Regions from separate parts of the Homo sapiens genome. Here regions 1, 2 and 4 are each linked to region 3. Evidence: promoter capture Hi-C in 16 types of primary human blood cells and fetal thymus (Javierre and others, 2016). All regions are on one chromosome and are shown on one strand. Each heading gives the region's core, a stretch centred on a gene start or on the middle of the fragment in contact. The rest is flanking DNA. Distances are from core to core; before and after follow the strand shown. Region 1 overlaps ANXA1 (annexin A1). Region 2 holds the start of ALDH1A1 (aldehyde dehydrogenase 1 family member A1). Region 3 holds the start of KLF9 (KLF transcription factor 9). Region 4 has its middle 22 kb from the start of ANXA1.

Region 1 (5,077 bases), core at 551-3,050, 2.8 Mb after region 3:
CCTGACCCATTGTTATTTGTCAATTTGTCCAATTTTGTACAGCCGCTACTTTATCATATTTAATACATTTTGTGACTTGGGCATGTGGAACATAATTTTGTTATTTTCACTGCTTTTACTCCCCTAAAAGATTTGGAATATGTGTGGGAAAAGACATGCATAACAGAACAAATGAAATTAGAATGAAGAAAAACAAAAAAAAAAAAACAAAAAACCCTCAGAGCTAAATGAAGAAAGAAATATGTAGGTGCTTTGGAAAAACAACAACAAGACAAAACTCAGAAAAAGTCCTGGCCTTTGAGTGCAAGATTTAGCTCTGGGCCTCTTGGAAGTGAAGGCGATGGAAAAGTTATGACAATTACCAAAGTTCACCATCTTATAATAGTATACTGATTTCTACTGTTAAATGTAAGAGAAATTTAGTGCACAGGTCTTTATATAAGGGAAGATCCATTTGCTGTGGCTCTTAGAACTGCTGTAGGAAGTGCTATAGTTGTCAATCACATGCCGTTTCTAATAACTGTCAACATTTGCAAACATTTCGCCAAAATATATAGGAATACCAAAATGGCCAGGTAAGTTACATTCCTAGGAGAGGATGAAGTATTCACGTTATGATTAATTGGGTATATTGCTTTAAAAGGTGTAGCCAAAGTTGTTATTCTAAAAAATTCTTTGAGTCAGTTGCCTTGATTTTGCTAAAGCTTTCTAAAGAAAAGGATGTTTTGCATGTATCTTAGTTTGAATTTAATATTCAGTGTTTCAGAAATACACCAAGTACAGTAAGCATGACATGAACAAAGTTCTGGACCTGGAGTTGAAAGGTGACATTGAGAAATGCCTCACAGCTATCGGTATGTAGTCCAGCAGTTGAAAGAGTTTTCTAACTAGAAATTGTATTTTCAAAGCTATCCTATACTTAACAAGAACAACAGCAACAAAACCAATAAAAGAAAACAAAAAACAATCAGAAGTAGTGCATCTGTTTCAATTGAAGCAACGTAAAAGATTGGCAAAGTACTATAACCTTAATAACAATAGATATTATTCCCCTTTTCAAAAATAGAGAGAGATAGACTATACTTATTGAGCACCTACTTATATCAAACAATGTACCAGGCTGGGCACACCACAGAGGCAATTCAGAATGGTCACTGAGAGCATGGGATCTGGAATAAATGTAACATCTGGATAAATGTAACTTCAAGTCCTGGTCTACTGCTTGTTAATTGTACAATCTTGGGCAGGTCCAGGAGAGTCTGATTCAGTGGGTCCGAGTTGGCCTCTAAAAATCGGTACTTTTTAAAGATCTCCCAGGTTATTCAGACAACCATCAGGGTTGGGGAACCTATGTTCTCAAGCAGTGTTTCTCATTCATGACTATGCACTTGAATCCCCTGGAAAGCTTGTTAAAATGCAGATTCTGATTCCCCAGGTCTGGGGTGGAGCTTAGATTCTGCTTTTCTAACAAGCTCCCCATTGATGCCAATGCTGTTGGTCCATAGATCTCGACAAGATGAAGAACACTATGAACTGGAATGTGCTAGTATTATTTGGGTTCTGTTTTATATTTAAGCCCATCCTATCCCAGAGTTTTTTCTTCATTTATTCATTTATTTTTACTTATTTGTTTGTGCAACTCTTACTTTAGACACAGAGGTACATGTGCACGTTTGTTCCATGGGTGTTCTGCACTCAGGCAGTGAGCATAGTACCCAATAAGTAGTTTTTTGACCAATGCCCCTTCTCTCCCTGCCCTCTCTAGTAGTCTGCAGTGTCTGTTGTTCATAGGGTGTTCTTTTTAAATGTTCTTATAGTAACATAAATAAAGTATTTACATAGGCTTGAACACCTAGTGGCTTCTCCACTCCCAAGGAGAATATATGTTGGATAGCGCAAACTACTGAAGTTGCTCTTGAGATGTATTTAAGGTAATAAAAAAATTGATCGTCAGGGAAAAGAATATTCAAAACCACCATCTAGAGAGTCACAAATACCTTCTCAGAAGTTAACTGCCCTATATTGGGAGATGAGAGGTGAAGAATGATGATGAGGGATAGAACACTGTTGGCAAAATTCTATATTTCCTGTTTCTTTCATATGGATATTTCATTTTTTTCATGGTAAATACATCAACTAAAATTTTCTTCTCTAACAGTGAAGTGCGCCACAAGCAAACCAGCTTTCTTTGCAGAGAAGCTTCATCAAGCCATGAAAGTATGTACCATTCTACTTATATGTCCTGCTTAGAGGAAGAATTATTTGTAGAAAGAACAGAAAACCTCATGTTGTTTGAAAATCTCACATTTAATATCTTCCCATTAATGAGAATCATTGTTCTATTTGATGAAAGAGGTAATACACTACCTTCTCAGAATAAACTTCTGTTAGATTCGGTGCTTTTTTTTACAGATGAGATTGTAAAGTGAGCCTGTAAGTGATTTACGGCTCACTTGTGATTTGCTTAAAACATGTGTCACCACGGGAAGGGTGATGTACTTTCTTTTTTAACGTGTAATTTTAGTGGCCTACTTCCTCTAAGGTTGTGAGTTTTATAATCTCCCACTTTATGAGTCTGATTTGTTGTTTTTATTATTCTGTCTTTTATGCCACAGATTAATAGTTGAAACTTTTGAAATGTCATTCTATGATTAAGGATGTAGAATGATGTATTTGAGATCAACTATGTCACTTTAACTTTACTGTCTGACATGCATGGTATTATACAAGGTACCTCTTCTATTCTGACATTTTGAGCCCACAAATGAATAGTTATGAAGTTATCTTCCTTTTTTCTTTGCAGCTCCAAAATAAGGAGGTTTTCAGAGAGAGAGAGAAAGAAAGATCTAACTATTTGAATAATATGAAGGAATATTTTGAATATATATGAATAATTTGAATAATATGAAATGATAGACATGCTAGGTACTGCTCTGTAGTGGTTAGCATAGTTGCTGCCCCCTTTCTGCCATAGTCTAGTGTGATATTTCGTTGGGTAATGATGAATACCTGGTGCCATGGAAGAGAAAAGTGGGACATATACTCCAGACTTTGGAAATCCAGGTAGCATTGCTGTCAGCTAAATTAACACCTGAAGTTTAAATAGAAATGAGCCAGATGAGGGCAAGAGTGGAAGAGATGGGGATAAAGCAAGGGTGGTCCAAGAGGAAGAAGTAACCCACACACAGGCTTGAAGGCAAAAGGTAACATAACCTTCTCAAGACAGTAAGTATAGAGTGATGGTGCACACTGGAAGAGATGGTAGAATTAGGCAGGATATTGTAAGCCTTGAAAAAGAATTAGGCAGGATATCGGAAGCCCTGATTAGATTCTATCCTAAGAGCAACAGAAGATCACTGACAGTGTTTTAAATAGATAGACTAGTTTATTAGATTTGCAGTTTAGAAGTTCCCTTTTTTTGTAATTATTGGACAGTGTAGAGACCGGATGGTGAGAGATGAGTTAGGAAGTTGTGACAGCTCTCTATACCTACCGCTAATGTAGAGGATTATTTATTTTCATTTCATTACCATTCGTGTAAGGTGTGTGTGTGTGTGTGTGTGTGTGTGTGTGTATAGCTAGTTTCTCTATAGAAATTATATGGAAGAGTAAGAAGGCTTCACTTTAAAATTCATGTTTTTAATGAGAGTATTTTCTGAATATGAGACACTTACCCTCATTTATTTTGGCCAGGGTGTTGGAACTCGCCATAAGGCATTGATCAGGATTATGGTTTCCCGTTCTGAAATTGACATGAATGATATCAAAGCATTCTATCAGAAGATGTATGGTATCTCCCTTTGCCAAGCCATCCTGGTATGTTTTGATTCCTCTAATGCCATCCCAACAAATGAAAGTTCTTTTTGCAAGATCTTCAAGGAGAAGAGTTGACTTATTGTATCTATAAATTTAATATGTAAGATTAATTTAATATATTATGGTGTATACTTCATGAGTAAATTGAACTTTCACTGGTAAAATCTACTAGTGAGTTCTCTACTGAAATACTGGGTACATTTTTCAACTAAAGTCATGGAAACATTTAGTTTCCCATGCATAAATTCAGCAAGCAGAATATTCTAGTGTTCCCCCTAGGGTAGATAGACATTGTGGTTTATTTTGCCATTAATATTTGTCAGAGGATTAGAAACTCCTTATTCAAAATATTTATCTTAATTCTATCACATGTAAAATGTTTAAAATTTATGTTCAAATTGTCTCATAAGAATGTTAAAAAATAAGACAAAGAACAGTCAAGGGTTTTGGACTTACTGAAAGGTAGATAACGATTCAAATTTAATTAATTAGTCATATTGGATAACTAAAATCTACCCAGAAAATGTGAGAAAATTACAGGCACTATACATTTCTCTTCTTCTGGTGAGTGAATCAGGTATCTCCTCACATAAGATATGAGATTATATTGTGTTATACTTATTTAATTTTGTGTGATATTTCATTCATAGAAAATAATGGCACTAATATAAAACATAATTAATTCAGAAAAGTTTGTAATCTCAGTCTTGAAGGCTATTGCTTTTTTATGCAATGATAAAAAATCAGTTATCTGTTGTATATATTGTTTAATTAAGTGAATGGTAATGTGTAATCTCATCTACAGCTAAGTCTAAAAATAATTCTTCTATAAGTAAAAAAAAATAGAGAATTATGGTTTCGACTAACATTAAGTATACCTTTTTTTGAATCAACAGGATGAAACCAAAGGAGATTATGAGAAAATCCTGGTGGCTCTTTGTGGAGGAAACTAAACATTCCCTTGATGGTCTCAAGCTATGATCAGAAGACTTTAATTATATATTTTCATCCTATAAGCTTAAATAGGAAAGTTTCTTCAACAGGATTACAGTGTAGCTACCTACATGCTGAAAAATATAGCCTTTAAATCATTTTTATATTATAACTCTGTATAATAGAGATAAGTCCATTTTTTAAAAATGTTTTCCCCAAACCATAAAACCCTATACAAGTTGTTCTAGTAACAATACATGAGAAAGATGTCTATGTAGCTGAAAATAAAATGACGTCACAAGACAATTGGTGTGTCATTGACTCTTCT
Region 2 (4,635 bases), core at 2,010-4,509, 2.5 Mb after region 3:
TTGGTTTGTAACCAGGGAACTTTTTATAGTTAATAACCATCATTTTTTTTTTTAACTCCTCTTGCAAGAGCAAATTCAATCCAATTCTTCACTGGGACATAGTAAACAAAAAATGCGAAGGCATTTGAAAAAGTTCACCCATTTAGATTTAATTACATACATAACTGGCGTCCTCCCAAGTGTGAAAACGCTGTAACCAATAAATTAAACAATAAAATGCTATCTGAGCAGAACAGATTTATATAGAAGATGCACGAGAAATCAAAATTCACTGACTTGTTTGGAGTATTTTTACCCAGAAAAGTTCTTAAACACAGAGCAAAACGCCTGCTCTTTGAGTCTTGCCTTCTTTTGGACACTTAGGTCAGTCACTTTCCCTAGAGGGGAGTTGTTGCACAGTGACTTCGAAGTGAATAGGTTTCAATCTCAAAATCATCTCTCTGTGTTAAGGGTTCATTAGGTCTGTGCTTGTATGTTAGATTTTTAGGACCATCTCATTTGTCTAGTACCGCTTCTTACATGCTTAGTTAATGACTACTAAGTGAAGCTTAATTTAGCAGGAAGGTTATTTACATTAGAGCTTCCTTGAAATACACACACAAGGAAGACTTTGCAAACTTCTGCAAAGCCAAAGGAGTGGGGAGACAGGGGCATCCAGACTACCAAAATATCTTCCTAGGTAGTATTATTAAAAAAAAAATCCCATTAATAATAGTAATACAATAATCTGAGCATTGTCGACAATTTTGAGCTTCATGAAATGTATTTTTAAATGTACCCACTTTCAATTGAAATTTCTTGTGAATGACAAACTTGGAATAAGAAAATGAGGGAGACTGGACTCTTGCAACCTTTTGGACATACCTTTGCCAAATGTAAATTGTTTGACGGTATGGATTTACTGCATTTTTCATGCTACCATTTGTAGTAAAACTAAATGGAAAAAATCTTTCCTCTTTAACAAAACCTCGTGATAACAATACCTTAAAATACACTTCATAGCTGCTGGTCAACCATGTTAAAGGCACAATCTGATCTCTGCTGCTACTTTCCTGAGGAAAAGAGCCAATCAGCTGAGCAACTTCCTCATTTGTTGTGCTTTATGAAAATGAAAATGCAACAGACCTTGGGATTTCAAAGCCATCCATGGTTACAAGTGAGGAAATAAATATATAACAGTGGGGACTTTTACTTTATCATTAAATTATAATGCCCTTTGTTTTTCTGTTGGCTAATTCAGACAGCAAAATGGCTCTCTCTTGATTTGCAAGAGTTAATTTCTTACCATACTTTCTGCATCACACCATAAAGATAACTTCAAGTAATTTTGGTTAGATTGTGTTTTATTCATTTGTTTGTTTTGGAGTTCTAGGATCTGACAGGAAAGCAGTGTGAAACAGGCAAAGTTCAGAGTTACTCTCAGAACGACTCAAGCAGGATCCATTTCCTAGTTCCCCCCAGCTGCGGATTTTAAAGTCTGGATCTAGCTCCTGCTCTTGTTTCTCTAAATATTTATCAGTTAACAATTACACATCTGCTCCAATGGCAACAAACTTGGCTGAAGAAATAATGCTTTTCTTCCTCCCACCAAAATATGCAAAATAATGCAAGTCCATCTGAAGATTTTCGAATCCAATTATCAGACTTAAGTCCCCCTATTTTAACACTCATTTTATTAAACATATTGGAAAGTTATGTTATTTCAGTATGCTCTCTTTCTCCTTGTTTGCTTTCTATTGTTCCTACTCGTTTGGTTCTTTCCAGTAAGCTTCTCTAGTGAGTATTTTGCTCTCTTATCATACATGCCGGCTATAGTGAAGTTAATAGAAGTGCTTAGTAAAGTCCTCTGAATCCTGGTATAAGAATCCTTTCACACAGAAGAGAATTCCTTTCGCTTGGAAATATTTTAAGAAATAAATTTATGAAAGATTGTCTGATATGATTTAGATCATATTTGATCAGGACACTAAACTGAGACCTGCATTTTGCATGCCTTTTATTTTTATATTTGCAAAGGGCTCTTTACACAAGTTTACTTAAATTGACCTTTAATGCTTTACATAAATGCAGTTTTTGCAAACCCGAGTCAAAGCAGAAAATAGAAGTTTTACTCACCTTAGTATATTGAATCTTCAAATCGGTGAGTAGGACAGGTAAGTCTGGCGTGCCTGAGGATGACATTTCTGATTCGGCTCCTGGAACACAGGTGACTGGCTCAGCAATTTGGTTCTGATAGAGCACTTGGCTTTATTTGTTCCTTTTTTATCTGCACGGGCTAAAGTTTATTTGCATACTCGGATACGATTGGATGAACAAACTCAGAGCAAAAAAAGAAAACGACACTACTTATTTGTAACACCTAGGGCAGGAAGCCTTTGACTTTAAACTTAAATCCTTAAGAAACCAGTGCTCCAGCATCGAATTTGTACCTGGAGACAGTGCACTATTTGCAGATGAATTAATTTACAAAGCCGAAACCTGTGATAAGTGTATGCAGCAGCTGCTCTGGCCACTAAGGCCAGTTATTATTTTTTTGACTTCTCATGCTTTTTAATGCTACTATGTAACTTTCTGTTCTCTGACAGACTTGGAATCAGAGAATTTGAGGATTGAAAAGAGTCTAAAAGGGCACTTGTTCTCAGTAGAAGCTGGCCAGGTGTCTTCAGGACAAGGCTTTCAGGAAATCAGTCCATCTCCCAGAAAATCAAGGTGCTGTTTGGGGAAGAAAGGCCCTTTATCTACACCCTACCCTAAGTTAGTTTTAAAATATCGTATCAGTCTTGTGTATTTTCAGTGCTGGGTAAGTAGACCTACTGTGATCTCAGAAGCCCTAAATTATCTTTATTTTCTATATGTGAACAGAAAAGCCAGCAGGACTTTTAGGGAATTCGGAACACACTGTCACACACAATCACCACAATTAGAAATATGGCAATATCATCTATTAATACTCATTTAAAATGAAAGTAATCCTGGTTTTGGAAGTTGTCTGTATTTATCAACATAGGCAGTGTACAAAGACTAAATTTAAGCAGGGCTTCCAAACAATTCAAGTTCTTAAATTAATATTTAGCTGAAGGACAATTTTTTAAACAGTGTTACTCCCATTTTAAGTACAATACTTTATTGTATTGTAGCTCTAGCAAACGTTACAATAGGAACAAGATAAAATACTCTGGATGCTCTGATTGTGGAGAATCAACCAATTTTTTTTTTTCTAGTGAAACTTGCCAATTCCCCTGAATATGGGACTTACATAGGGAAACTAAAAATTTCTGAATTGTTTGCCCAAATCAGGTGCAGCACTTGTTTCCCTTTCTACCCTCATTTCATATCCCCATTTTAGAGACATACAGAGGGTGAGTAGCTTACTTATGGTCACAGATCTATTAGTGCAGGACCAGAATTTCATTTCAGGCCAGTCTGACTCCCAAACCTGGACTCTTATTTCTGTTTACTATTTCTACCCTATTCTCCACAAGAGAACTCCTACATGGGTTCAAGCATCAACTGCTTTGGTTTTCTCAGTGAATAGTCACCCTTACAGGCATTTAAACATAACTTTTTATTCATCTAAGACAAGAATTTGCAAAACTTTTTCTGTAAATATTTTCAGCCTCTGGGCTGGATGGTTTCTGATATAATTTACTTGACTCTATTTAAAAGAAACTGTAGATGATAGGTAAATTAATGGGTGTAGTTGTTTTCCTATAGAACTTTATTTAAAAAGACAGAAGGCAGGCCAGATTTGGTGCACGGGCCAACTCCCTAGATTCTAAGGCAATATCATTCCCAATGCCTTTGACTCCCCCGTGTCTTATGTTTGATGACCAGATAGAAACTTCTGTGTTCTTTCAACATTTCTCTGTTTCTTTCTTTTTGGAAAGTCTAATTGTTTTCTCTCTCAAAAATGTGTTTTGAGTTAAATGCACAATTACACAACAGCTGTTACATAACTTGAGAGTGGCGCTCTGGCCATGCCCAAACAGCTGTGTTTTGCTGCTTTCTTCTCCCAGAGTCACAGTTGTTTGTGGATTCAAATACTGGTTTATTTGATGTCCAGGCGATGAAAGCTCAAGGCTTCATAACATACTTGGCTTGTCATCTCACTTCTTATATGATCATTCTCAATTGTATTTTATTGGATAATTATGTAAGAACAGTCCCTTTATACCAGGCATTCCTGAATGTAGGCAAAAGGAGTTGCTTTGGAGACAGGTTACCACACCTGCCCATTTAATTTCAGCAAATATTTACTAAGTATCATTTATGCATCCATAATTCTTTAGCCCTAACCTCACTTAAGCAGATCTTTTCTGCCTAGAAACCACAGGGCCTGAGACCTATATTTTTGAGGTAAACATCATCCTGCCCTGAGAGCTTATTTTGTAGAATAGCATATTTCTGGGAATTGCTGCATATGAGGAAAAGATTTCATCAGACTACTTCTATTCCTTACAGAGGAAATAATGGCTTTTGTGAGAACCTAGGGACCAAGGTTGCACATTTTAGAACTGGACCCAGGATTGTACGTTTTTATGGTATGCCAGGACTATGCAGCAGAGGAGGAGCTGTCCCTTTAACTTGAGAGTAATCGACAAATGATGTTTCATCTTCTTTTTCCTCCTTATGAAC
Region 3 (4,477 bases), core at 1,611-4,110:
CACAAGACAGAGGCAAAAGGCTTATCTGAGAGGACCAAGCCCCGCTACCTCTGAATGGCGCTTGTAAAAGAACCATTCCGAAGATGGTCAAGACAGCATGTCCAAATGTGAATGCTTTCCAACTTTTACCGTTCATGTTAAACACAACCAACAGAATTGGATGACCCAGGTCCCTGGAAGTCTCCAAAGCCCATTTTAAAAGGCAGATAGATGTCTTTCTGGCCACATTCATTTGTACGGCCATGCCTCTCACCCTCCCTGGGAGGAACTATTCCCTGAGGCCTCCAGAACCGCCCAACATTCATTACCAAGCCTTGACCTCCGGCAAGGACCACACCTCCCTGCAAACCGCGATTCAGGGGTGGAGGGTGCGACCTAAGTCACATGGCCAAAAAAAAAAAAAAAAAAAAAAAAAAAAGTCAGCTCTGAAACCTGGCTCATCAGGAGGACTCATGAGTGAAGTTAACCACCATTACTTGATCAGACTCCTATGCTGCCTGAAGCCGGGTTATTTTAAACCTCTCGGGGGACTCCCAGCCAAATTTAAAACCACCTTGGCAAGCCCAAAAAAGTAGCAGGCATCCAGTTAAATGAGTCCTTAGTCATCCCTAAAAGGCTCGAAGTAAAGTGCGCCGCGTCCCCCCTCGGTTTCAACCACTTCTCTGCAACCCGACAAGAGAATTAAATAAAAGATACGCCATCTGACTTCCCCGCTGCCAGCGTCTCCCAGGTGGGGTGGCCCCACCGTCGCGGGGTGCGGGAGAGTCCCGGGGGCGGGGCGGGACAGGGGAGGGGCGGACACCACTCCCCGCGAAGCCACGCACCGCACTCGCTCTGCCCGCCAGTTTAAGGCTCTCCGTGGCTCCCGGAGGCCGGGGACAATTAAGGAGAGAGTGAGCTTTCCGCCAATGCACATTTAAATTATTTAAAGAGTTAAACCGCATCTTATCCAACATGTTTGCACCCTTTCGGCCGAGTGCAGTGTCCCGAACGCCCAGGAACGCTGCCTGGCCAAAGGTTAACTAACCCCAGAGCTCCGGGGGAGAGGGCGACGCCGCTAACCTGTATGCACTCTGTAATGGGCTTTGAGATGGGAGGATTTTCCATAGACTTTCCCACAGCCACTGTAGGGGCACTTGTGCCTCTTTTCGGAGGCGTGTTTCCCCTTCGCAGCCACTCCAGGATGGAGGAGGGAGAGCGGGCTGGGCGCGCTGCCAGGATCCTGTCTCTCCTCCGGGCTGTGGGAAGGACTCGACCCAGATTCGGTGGTCACGTCGCTGTCGGATCCCATATCCTCATCTGGACTTTCCAGACTGTCGCTGCACACGGAGGGGGTCTGGATGGGTCGGTACTTGTTCAGGTCCAACAAGCTCTTGGCGATGGTGACCAGTGTGCAGTAATCCTTCCAGGTGTCCCCCGGGTCACCGTGCTCCTTGGTCACCTCGCGCTCAGGTAGTCGCAGCCGCTCGGCGTCCGGAGCGACCCCATGCTCCGGCACCGCAGCGCGGTTCGAAATGGAAACCAGACACTGGGCAGCCACGAAGTCCATGTAGGCGGCCGCGGACATGGTGCGGGCGACGGCAGCCCAGGCGGCGCGGACAAACTTGGCGGTGGCTGCGGAGGTTCGGCTCGCCCTGCCCTGGCCTCGGACGACGAGCGCGGCGCGGCGCGGCACGGCGCGGCGGCCAAGGGGGCGGGGGCGCGGGGCGCTTCCGACTCGCAGGAGCGCCGAGGCGACCTCAGCCCCTCATCTTTACGTAACCGGCAGCGCCTCCGCACGCAGCATCCACGGCCCCGGGCTCCGCCGCGCCGCCGCCTCTAGCCGCCGCCCCTGCCCCGCGCCGGCCGCGATCCCCCGACGGGCGCGCCGGCCCCTCTGAGCCGGCTCCCTTGGAAAGATGCCACACGTGGCGGTCGCAAGTTTATTCGACTGAAAACGCCCCCGAGGCGCTGGGAGAGGAAACTGCAAGAGAGGTGCACGCCCTCGGCCGCCTCGCCGTCGAGCCAAAGCCCCAGGACATTCACCCGATCACCCCGACGCGGGTGGCGAGGGTCCCGCCGAGCGCCAGGTCTAAGAGACACTTTTTCCCGAGTCCACTGACGGCTTCTGAACCCCTGCTCCGGCCGGTCCGCACCGTTCCGGCATTCTCTTGCTCAGTAACAATTTCGCAGAATCCCATCACGTCACAAACCAAACCCCCTCCAATTGGCCAGTGGGGAGGGTGATTCAACTCTGTTTACTTTCTCCCCCTGCCAGTCAGAACGGCCTTCGGTGGAGAGGTGCGTCTAGAACTGAGGCGTGCGGCCAATCCGACTGTTCCGTTTCGCTGCCTCGTGCTACCCCTACAGCCTCGAACACTGACATTTAAAAGGGTAACAGCTGGGAGGCAGGGAAGGGGCAGCCGCACACTTTCGGAGTGCCTCGCGGTCCCGTGGCCGGTCCGGGCCTCCTGGCTCACGTTCCAGCTTGCGGAGCTTTGGGACACATCTTTCCTAGTCAGTTGCGCTCGTTCCTATGGCAAAAGAGAACTTCAGCTTCGGTTTTCCAGCTCCCAAACAGTTAAGTGACTTCCTGCAAACGCTACAGTCCCAGCAACCAGCCTTCCAATCAAAAGTAAGTTGGTTGATGTCACTGGCATTGGCTCGGCCAATCACAAGGGCGTTCCGAAAGCAAGCGCTCGACACTTGTAAACGCGAAGAGCTGTAGTGAAACTGGACACATCTTTGTATTTTGTGTTGCTGGTAGTAAATTTGAGTTATGGATGAGAGGACAGGGGTGATGAATAAATGCAGTGTGAATCTATAATTAAAAAAACCCCATTATGTCAGGATAAGTCCAAGAATAAACACAAATGAGTAAGAATTCGTTTTGTTATATATTTTTTGGATGCAGCATACTTTGGGGCAGATGTTTAAAAATTCTTCCATCCAATACATTAACTATGACCAATTCATCTTAAAAATGCAGTGCTAACAAAAGTTCTGGTTTTACAGCATAGCCTTTTTACTGCCTGAGATTCTTCCATTGAAACATCCCATCTTTGCTTGTCATATCTCTTAATTCCTCTACTTCTCTGGTGCAATTTAGTCTAAATAAATTCTTTTAGCTTTATTTGGAGGCTATTTTTAACCCACTTTCAGAAAAACGGAGACAAAAACCATTCATTTGTGTAACTTTTATAAAAAACCCACCATTCTTAGCTCTTTTTCTTTCCAGAGCCCCTGCATGGTTTTTAGGACATGTTTCTCTTCCCTCACTTCACAAATGTGGAAACTGAGTTACAGAGAAGTGACTTATTTATCTTATTAGACAGATAATGATAGAACTCAATAGAAACCACAAGTCTCCTGATTTCTAGCTCTTTGTGCTTGCAACTAAGCCCTTTTGGTTTTGTGAAATATTAACTGTGCAGAACAGATTTTTAGGGACTGGAACAAGCTGGAAATCCTTAGCCATGGAATACTGTGGCATTACTTGGTCAACAATTAGTATGGGTCTTGGAGTCTGATTAACTTGGTTTACCCCTCCGTCTGAATTAACGATGTGGTTGTTTTCCATCTTGATAGCTAGAAAAGAATCTAGGGCTAGTTCTTTTTGCAAGAGGCATACTGTCAGCACAATTCATTAAAAATAATTCACTTTCGTGAATGTGAGAGGTACCTGATTCTATGTGATGCAGATTCGGTGAGTTCCAACCCTGACCCCCCACTGGCTATTAACCTTTGTTAAGAGAAAGTTACACCAGGTTCTGGTCTCCGAGGCAAGGGTCTCAAATTGACTCTACCAATGTGAGATCTACAGTAGTTTCTTTTGACTTTGTTTTTAAAGTGGTACATCAAAAATAATAATAATAAAAAAAAAGTTAGCCAGGCGTGGTGGCTCGCACCTGTAGTCCCAGCTACTCAGGAGGCTGAGGCTGAAGGACTGCGTCAGCCTAGGTCAAGGCTGCAGTGAGCCCTGATTACACCACTGTACTACTCCAGCCTGGGCAACAGAGCAAGGCCCTGTTTTTTTTGTTTTTTTTTAAATCATAACTAAGGGTGGCTCAGGTAAGTAAGAGTATAATAGATTTTAATTAAAAAATAACAAACCTGACAAGACCAGTTCAATAAAAGTGTACAGCTTAAAAAAATAAAGAAAACAACAACAAAAATATTAAAGTGGTACAGGGAAGATATTGCAGTAGGTGACTGCAGGTGGAAGAAAGGTGTAGATAGGGGATACTGGGCAACCAAGAATATCATCACCATCAGCATCATTATCACCGACCCCTTTCATGGAGGGCTTACTCTGTGTCAGGCCCTGTACCAAGCACCCTGCATGCATCCCTGTAAGGTAGGTATACAGTGTATAAAAAACTCCAAGCCATCTTGGAGTTCTTGCATTTTTAGAACTTAATCTCTTAATTTTAGAAAAGAATTCACTGAAGCCCAGGGGAGTTTGCCTACTTCATGATTTTTCTGGGACAAATTTTGT
Region 4 (5,134 bases), core at 2,090-4,589, 2.7 Mb after region 3:
TAATCCCAGCACTTTGGGAGGTCAAGGCAGGTGGATCACGAGGTCAGGAGTTCGAGACCAGCCTGGCCAACATGATGAAACCCAGTCTGTACTAAAAATACAAAAATTAGCCAGGCGTGGTGGCATGCACCTGTAATCCCAGCTACTCGGGAGGCTGAGGCAGGAGAATTGCTTGAACCCAGCAGGCGGAGGTTGCAGTGAGCCAAGGTCGTGCCTCTGCACTCCAGCATGTGTGACGGAGCAAGATGCCGTCTCAAAAAAAAAAAAAAAAAAATCATACAAACAATAGAGATGAGGAGCGAAAAAAGTAAGATCAACTTTAACATTTTACTATATGGTAGAATGTCATTCAATGAGTCATTATATTAATTAGATTTGGAAATATAAAATTATGTACAATCAGATTTAACAAAGTAGACTAAAATATGGGTCTTATTATTAGTCCTTTATGGAAGCAAAGAGGTTCTGCCACTTGTGTGATTGTTTACTGCATTTTTTTCTTACATATAGACAACAATTCTCAAAGTTGGCTATGCATTTTGTTTTTTAGGACTGTGATGGAAATCCCTGTGTGTGCAGTTAAGAAAACAGAATTTAATATATATTAAACTAAGCAGAGGCTTTAATAGTAATCAATCAACTAAGTGTTCTTTTTATTCTTCCAGTATCCTAGACTTTCCTTATCCTCGGTTAATGTTGTACCTGGTGGTCTAAATTGATCATTCTGTGGGGGACACATTTCCTCAGCCTTGAAGGAACTGTGCTCTTGGTACCCTGCCCTCATCCTACTACAGCTGCTGTATTTACTCATTCACTTTTATCAGCAGGTGGAGAAACGTCAAGATGTATCCAAATGATCTTCCCGGGTCCATAGTTGATACTCTATTATATAAAAGCTATCCTGGGTAAACTTTTTAGAGCAGCCTACATTGACCAAGTATGAGTGGCAATTTCAGGTTCCTTTTCTGGAAAAAACAGGATGTCTAATGGAGCAAAAGCTAAAATTGTGAGGACAGAAATCAGGTGTTCTGCAAATGGTTTCCTGGCAATGAAGGCTTAGGGCCAGAGAAGACACCATGGGTGCTCTTCCCTCTGATGGCTCTTTCACTACATTCATAGCTGCCTCAGTGTGCTCTCAGTCCCATGAGACAGCACCCTGTGATTATCAGTGGCTGCTGTATTAGTTTGCTAGGGGTGTCTTTAAGACTGGGTGTCTTAAACAATAAACATTTATTTTCTCAAGGTCCAGAAGCCAGAAATGTAAGATTAAAGCATCAGCAGGTTTGGTTTTTCTGAGAAAACTCTCTCACGTGGTATGGCAAGGAGAGAGGCCATTTCTCTTTAAAGGCCCTATCTCCAAAACAAGTCACATTCTGATGTACTGTGGGTTAGGACCTTAACTTATGAATCTGGGTGAGGGACCTGCAATTCAGGCTGTCACAACCACTTTATCTGCACAAAAGGGAACTAAATATGCCTGGAAATTTACATTCCCTCAGTCATAGCTCTAAATCAATGACTGGTAGGTGCACAGGTAAGACTTTACCTCTATTGACCAATTCAGAGTTGAGATCTATACTGTGCCCAGAAATGCATGGCAGGCTTGAACAAAAGATGTACTTCATTGGAAATTGCTTGATAATGCATCCTTTATTGGTCTTCTTCTGTTATTATTCCCATTTCTCTGTAATTTCTTGGGAATATACTCTAATACATAAGTTACACACAAATTTTCATCATAAGATTTGTCTTTCGAATGCTGTTATGGGTTGAATTGTGTCCTTTAAAAATATATCTTAAGGTCCTAACCTGTAAATATGACCTTATTTGGAAATGCAATCATTGTAGATGTAATTAAGGTAGGGTGAGATAATGACACTATGTTAGAGTGGGCCCTAAATCCAATATGAATGGTGCCATTATAAGAAGAGGGAAACTTGGACACAGAGATAGAGACACTCAGGGAGAATGTTATCTGACCACAAGGACACAAAAAGGAGAGTGCCATGTGAAACCAGATGTAAATATTGGAATGGTGCATCTATAAGCCAAGCAATGGCAAAGATTGCCAGCAAACCACCAGAAGGCAGGAGAGAAGCACAGGACATAATTTCGTTTGGAGCACCCAGAGGAAATCAACCCTACCGAGACCTTAATTTGGAACTTCTATCCTCCAGAAGTGTGAGAGACTAAATTTCTGTTGTTATATGCCAGCAAGTTTGTGGTACTTTCTTATAGCAACCCTAGGAAACTAATGAAGAAACGCAACTTGAAAATAGGTTATTTCAGAAGTGGTCCTAGGAAGCATACACTTAGGAAGGGATTCTGAGTTAGATCACTTGCCATCTGGATAACAACTGGATCACACTGTTGGAGATTAAACTGTTAAAAACTGAAAACTCTAGCACTGTCATTGCATAACTTTTGCCAGTGGTGAGTTGGCATGGGATACAGATGAAAGGAGACTACACATGCATTTCAGAGCTATGGGGGGATTTATTAATTATAAGATTTGGAAATTGGTTGGTTGTTGCTAAGTGTCATTGTGCCGAAGAAGAAAATTGACAAGCTCAGGTTTGTCCGTTACTAACCAGGGGCATGGTATGAAAGATTGGAGGACTCCAGGGCAGCATTTAAAGAAACCCATGCTTTCTATAGCTAGAAGACAGATTGAAAGGAAGACTGGATGATAAACTTTACTATAAAAGTAGTAGAAATACAACAAAAGATGAGTTAATAGCCTTGGCAAGGTTTTATGCTAAGTCAGAACCCTGATAGAGATGGTGCAGAGAATTGTAGGTGGATGTGCTCAAAATTATAGAACTCGCAGATTCCTTTGAACCCCTGGGCATATAAGAGTGGCTTATTTAGTTTTGCTGGAACATAGCAGCTTTCTCTTGCTTGAAGGCCACACCAAAACCTCAACCGAGATGGATGCCTTTGACGATGATATTTGTCCTTATCAAGATCTGACTTCACTTTCTCTCCTGTCTTCTAGTTCTGTATCTAAGTCTCAGCATGGGCCAACCAGGGAAGGGAAAAAATTACTCTCCAAAAGAACATCAAGACGTGATTAATTTGCAGCAAAAGGAATCAGGACAGCATGCCAGGAAGTATATCTTGATAGCGCTGGATTGGGGTGAGAGCTGGGGATAGTGAGAGAGAAGCTTGATAAAGGAACATTTGTCAACAAGGGAACATTCTTCCATGACTGAAAACTCCCTAACAAGAGCACCTGGGAATGGTTCTAATACGCTGCTTGGATGGTTACTAAAAGTTCTGTAGGGGGAAGAAAAAGGCTCACATTAAATTAAGCAGAGATGACAGAACTGCTTTAGCAGAGTTTTGAGGAAGGGCTCAAAAGGCTCAGAGAAGTGAGCATGCTAGAATGATTCTATTGTGTAACACCAGAGAGACTACCAGCTGATTATGTTCATTGAAGGGCCAGAGAACATTCTCATCACAAAGCTGATAAGGAATGTGCTATTGATGGAGGGATTGGCATATTTGAGAAGCTTAGTGATAGCTGGACCGAAGTTGACAGTAGGCAATACTGTTAGAGAACTGGGCTCCCTAGTGTCAATGGAAATGATTATATTCCAGAATATCAGGGGTCAAGTGCAATATAGTCAACCACTAGAGATCTATGGTGATGGCTGATATCCCAAGGTGTTTATCGAGAAAAAATAGATGGATAGACAACAAGAGCGTGGTTGGCTATACATAATCAAGGATGATTAAAACTGGATGAGCAATTGGAAGCCTCATGTCATCAATGCCCACGGAATATTACTTCTTGACCCAGTTTAAAAACCTGCACCAATTCTCAGACCCACAGAAGGAAGCTGCAATGCCACAAGCATACACAGCAGAGATTTCTGTGCATACAGTTGTATACATTTTAAAAATAATCCACTTATAATTTGAATTACAACCAGGGAGTCCACTATGCATATTCTAGTCTCTTTATCTTGGGTAATGATGCTTCTCGTCTCTGGAATACCCTTTGGCACCTTCTCTATGTGAGTGCTATTTCATGTTTTAAGGCTTACAGTAACCTTTCTCGATGACCTCTATCTCTTAGTAGAAATCACGTTCTCCAAACAGCTATCTTGTTCATTTAACATTTACTATATTCAGTTTTGAATGGTTGTTAAAATTTTTATGTAAATAAAAGTTTTTTGGAATTGTCCATTTGATATATTTAATTTATTCCATTTATTAAACTTGAAGTAGACCTTCGAGAATCAATTATTATTGATTCTCAAAATGCAAATATTATTATAGTTATCCCTTTATCCTAGATTGTTAATTGGTTGAATTATTTGAAATCCTTGAGATAAACTAAAATAGACAGGAATACTTAATACAGAATGATTAACTTGGGTAGATAGACAGATTAAACTTAGCTTTTGTTTAAAAGCTGGAATTCTAAGTAGTCAACATCAGATGAGTCAAATGAAAATTGATACCCATTGTAGAACTAATGAATGGTCTTGCAGTTTAAGTCCTTTCTTAACTCTGTCATCTTTTACTTTGTAATGACTAAAAAGCTACAATTACTATCACAGGAGTCTTCAGTATGTTACCATGCCAAAACTGGGAAATGTGGCTGGCTGTTTCCTAATGGAAAATTGTTAGCTTCTTGGCGACATGAAGAAAAGGATGTTGGGATTGCCCTTTCAGACATCAAAATTCATTACAAAACTTTAGAAATTAAGATACTGTGGTACCGGGAACGAGAAAGATCAAAAAATAGACGGAAGAGAACAGAGAAAATTGAAAGACATATCTATATGTCTATATCTGCACATACAAATATGCATATGCAATCACACATAGTTGATAAATCTCACAAGAAATAAAATTTAAAAGAAAGAATCAAAGTGAATATGGTGTTAGTAAAAAAAAAAGGCTATGAATTTTTGAATACTTTTTCCCAAGGTGGTGACATTCCAGCATATACTACAAACAAAAGAGGCCATTCACCGGATGATATCATCCCTTCAAAAATAAACTTATCCTCAATTTCCTGATTAAAATCAGACATTCTTCTGCTTGACAGAGGTCCTTACTTCCTGTTTTCTCTAGCATTTGCCAAGTGGCTCTGAGGACTTCGGTGTAAGAACACTCA

Evidence for each region. Contacts are between HindIII fragments. The CHiCAGO score rates a contact against its expected background, and 5 or more counts as called.
Region 1: a contact is called between a fragment that was not itself captured here and the fragment with the promoter of KLF9 in region 3, in 1 of 17 cell types (total CD8 T cells). The highest score is 5.6, in total CD8 T cells.
Region 2: a fragment that was not itself captured here is called in contact with the fragment with the promoter of KLF9 in region 3 in 1 of 17 cell types (M2 macrophages); the score reaches 5.2 in M2 macrophages.
Region 4: a fragment that was not itself captured here is called in contact with the fragment with the promoter of KLF9 in region 3 in 1 of 17 cell types (activated CD4 T cells); the score reaches 6.1 in activated CD4 T cells.

Annotation. Positions count from the first base shown.
Region 1 is chr9:73,165,339-73,170,415 of GRCh38, forward strand. It overlaps ANXA1 (annexin A1), which reads left to right. Exons shown (of 13, transcript NM_000700.3): 10 at 759-854; 11 at 2,159-2,217; 12 at 3,694-3,816; 13 at 4,713-5,055. The coding sequence ends at 4,769. Among named protein-coding and RNA genes, the nearest start is that of ANXA1, 16 kb to the left of the region's middle. The HindIII fragment of the contact is 794 bases long and covers 1,404-2,197 here.
Region 2 is chr9:72,950,820-72,955,454 of GRCh38, forward strand. ALDH1A1 (aldehyde dehydrogenase 1 family member A1) reads right to left here and starts at 2,234. Exons shown (of 13, transcript NM_000689.5): 1 at 2,116-2,234. The coding sequence starts at 2,181. The HindIII fragment of the contact is 2,986 bases long and covers 1,767-4,635 here.
Region 3 is chr9:70,411,797-70,416,273 of GRCh38, forward strand. It overlaps KLF9 (KLF transcription factor 9), which reads right to left and starts at 2,861. Exons shown (of 2, transcript NM_001206.4): 1 at 1,063-2,861. The coding sequence starts at 1,567. It overlaps KLF9-DT (KLF9 divergent transcript), which reads left to right and starts at 2,394. Exons shown (of 4, transcript XR_001746710.3): 1 at 2,394-2,614. LOC124900273 (a long non-coding RNA gene) reads right to left here and starts at 1,010. Exons shown (of 2, transcript XR_007061576.1): 1 at 554-1,010. RefSeq lists silencers at 626-818, 1,554-1,733, enhancers at 894-1,003, 1,342-2,195, 2,024-2,103, 2,444-2,573 and a promoter at 1,910-2,712. The HindIII fragment of the contact is 11,812 bases long and covers 1-4,477 here.
Region 4 is chr9:73,127,096-73,132,229 of GRCh38, forward strand. No RefSeq gene overlaps it. Among named protein-coding and RNA genes, the nearest start is that of ANXA1, 22 kb to the right of the region's middle. The HindIII fragment of the contact is 348 bases long and covers 3,166-3,513 here.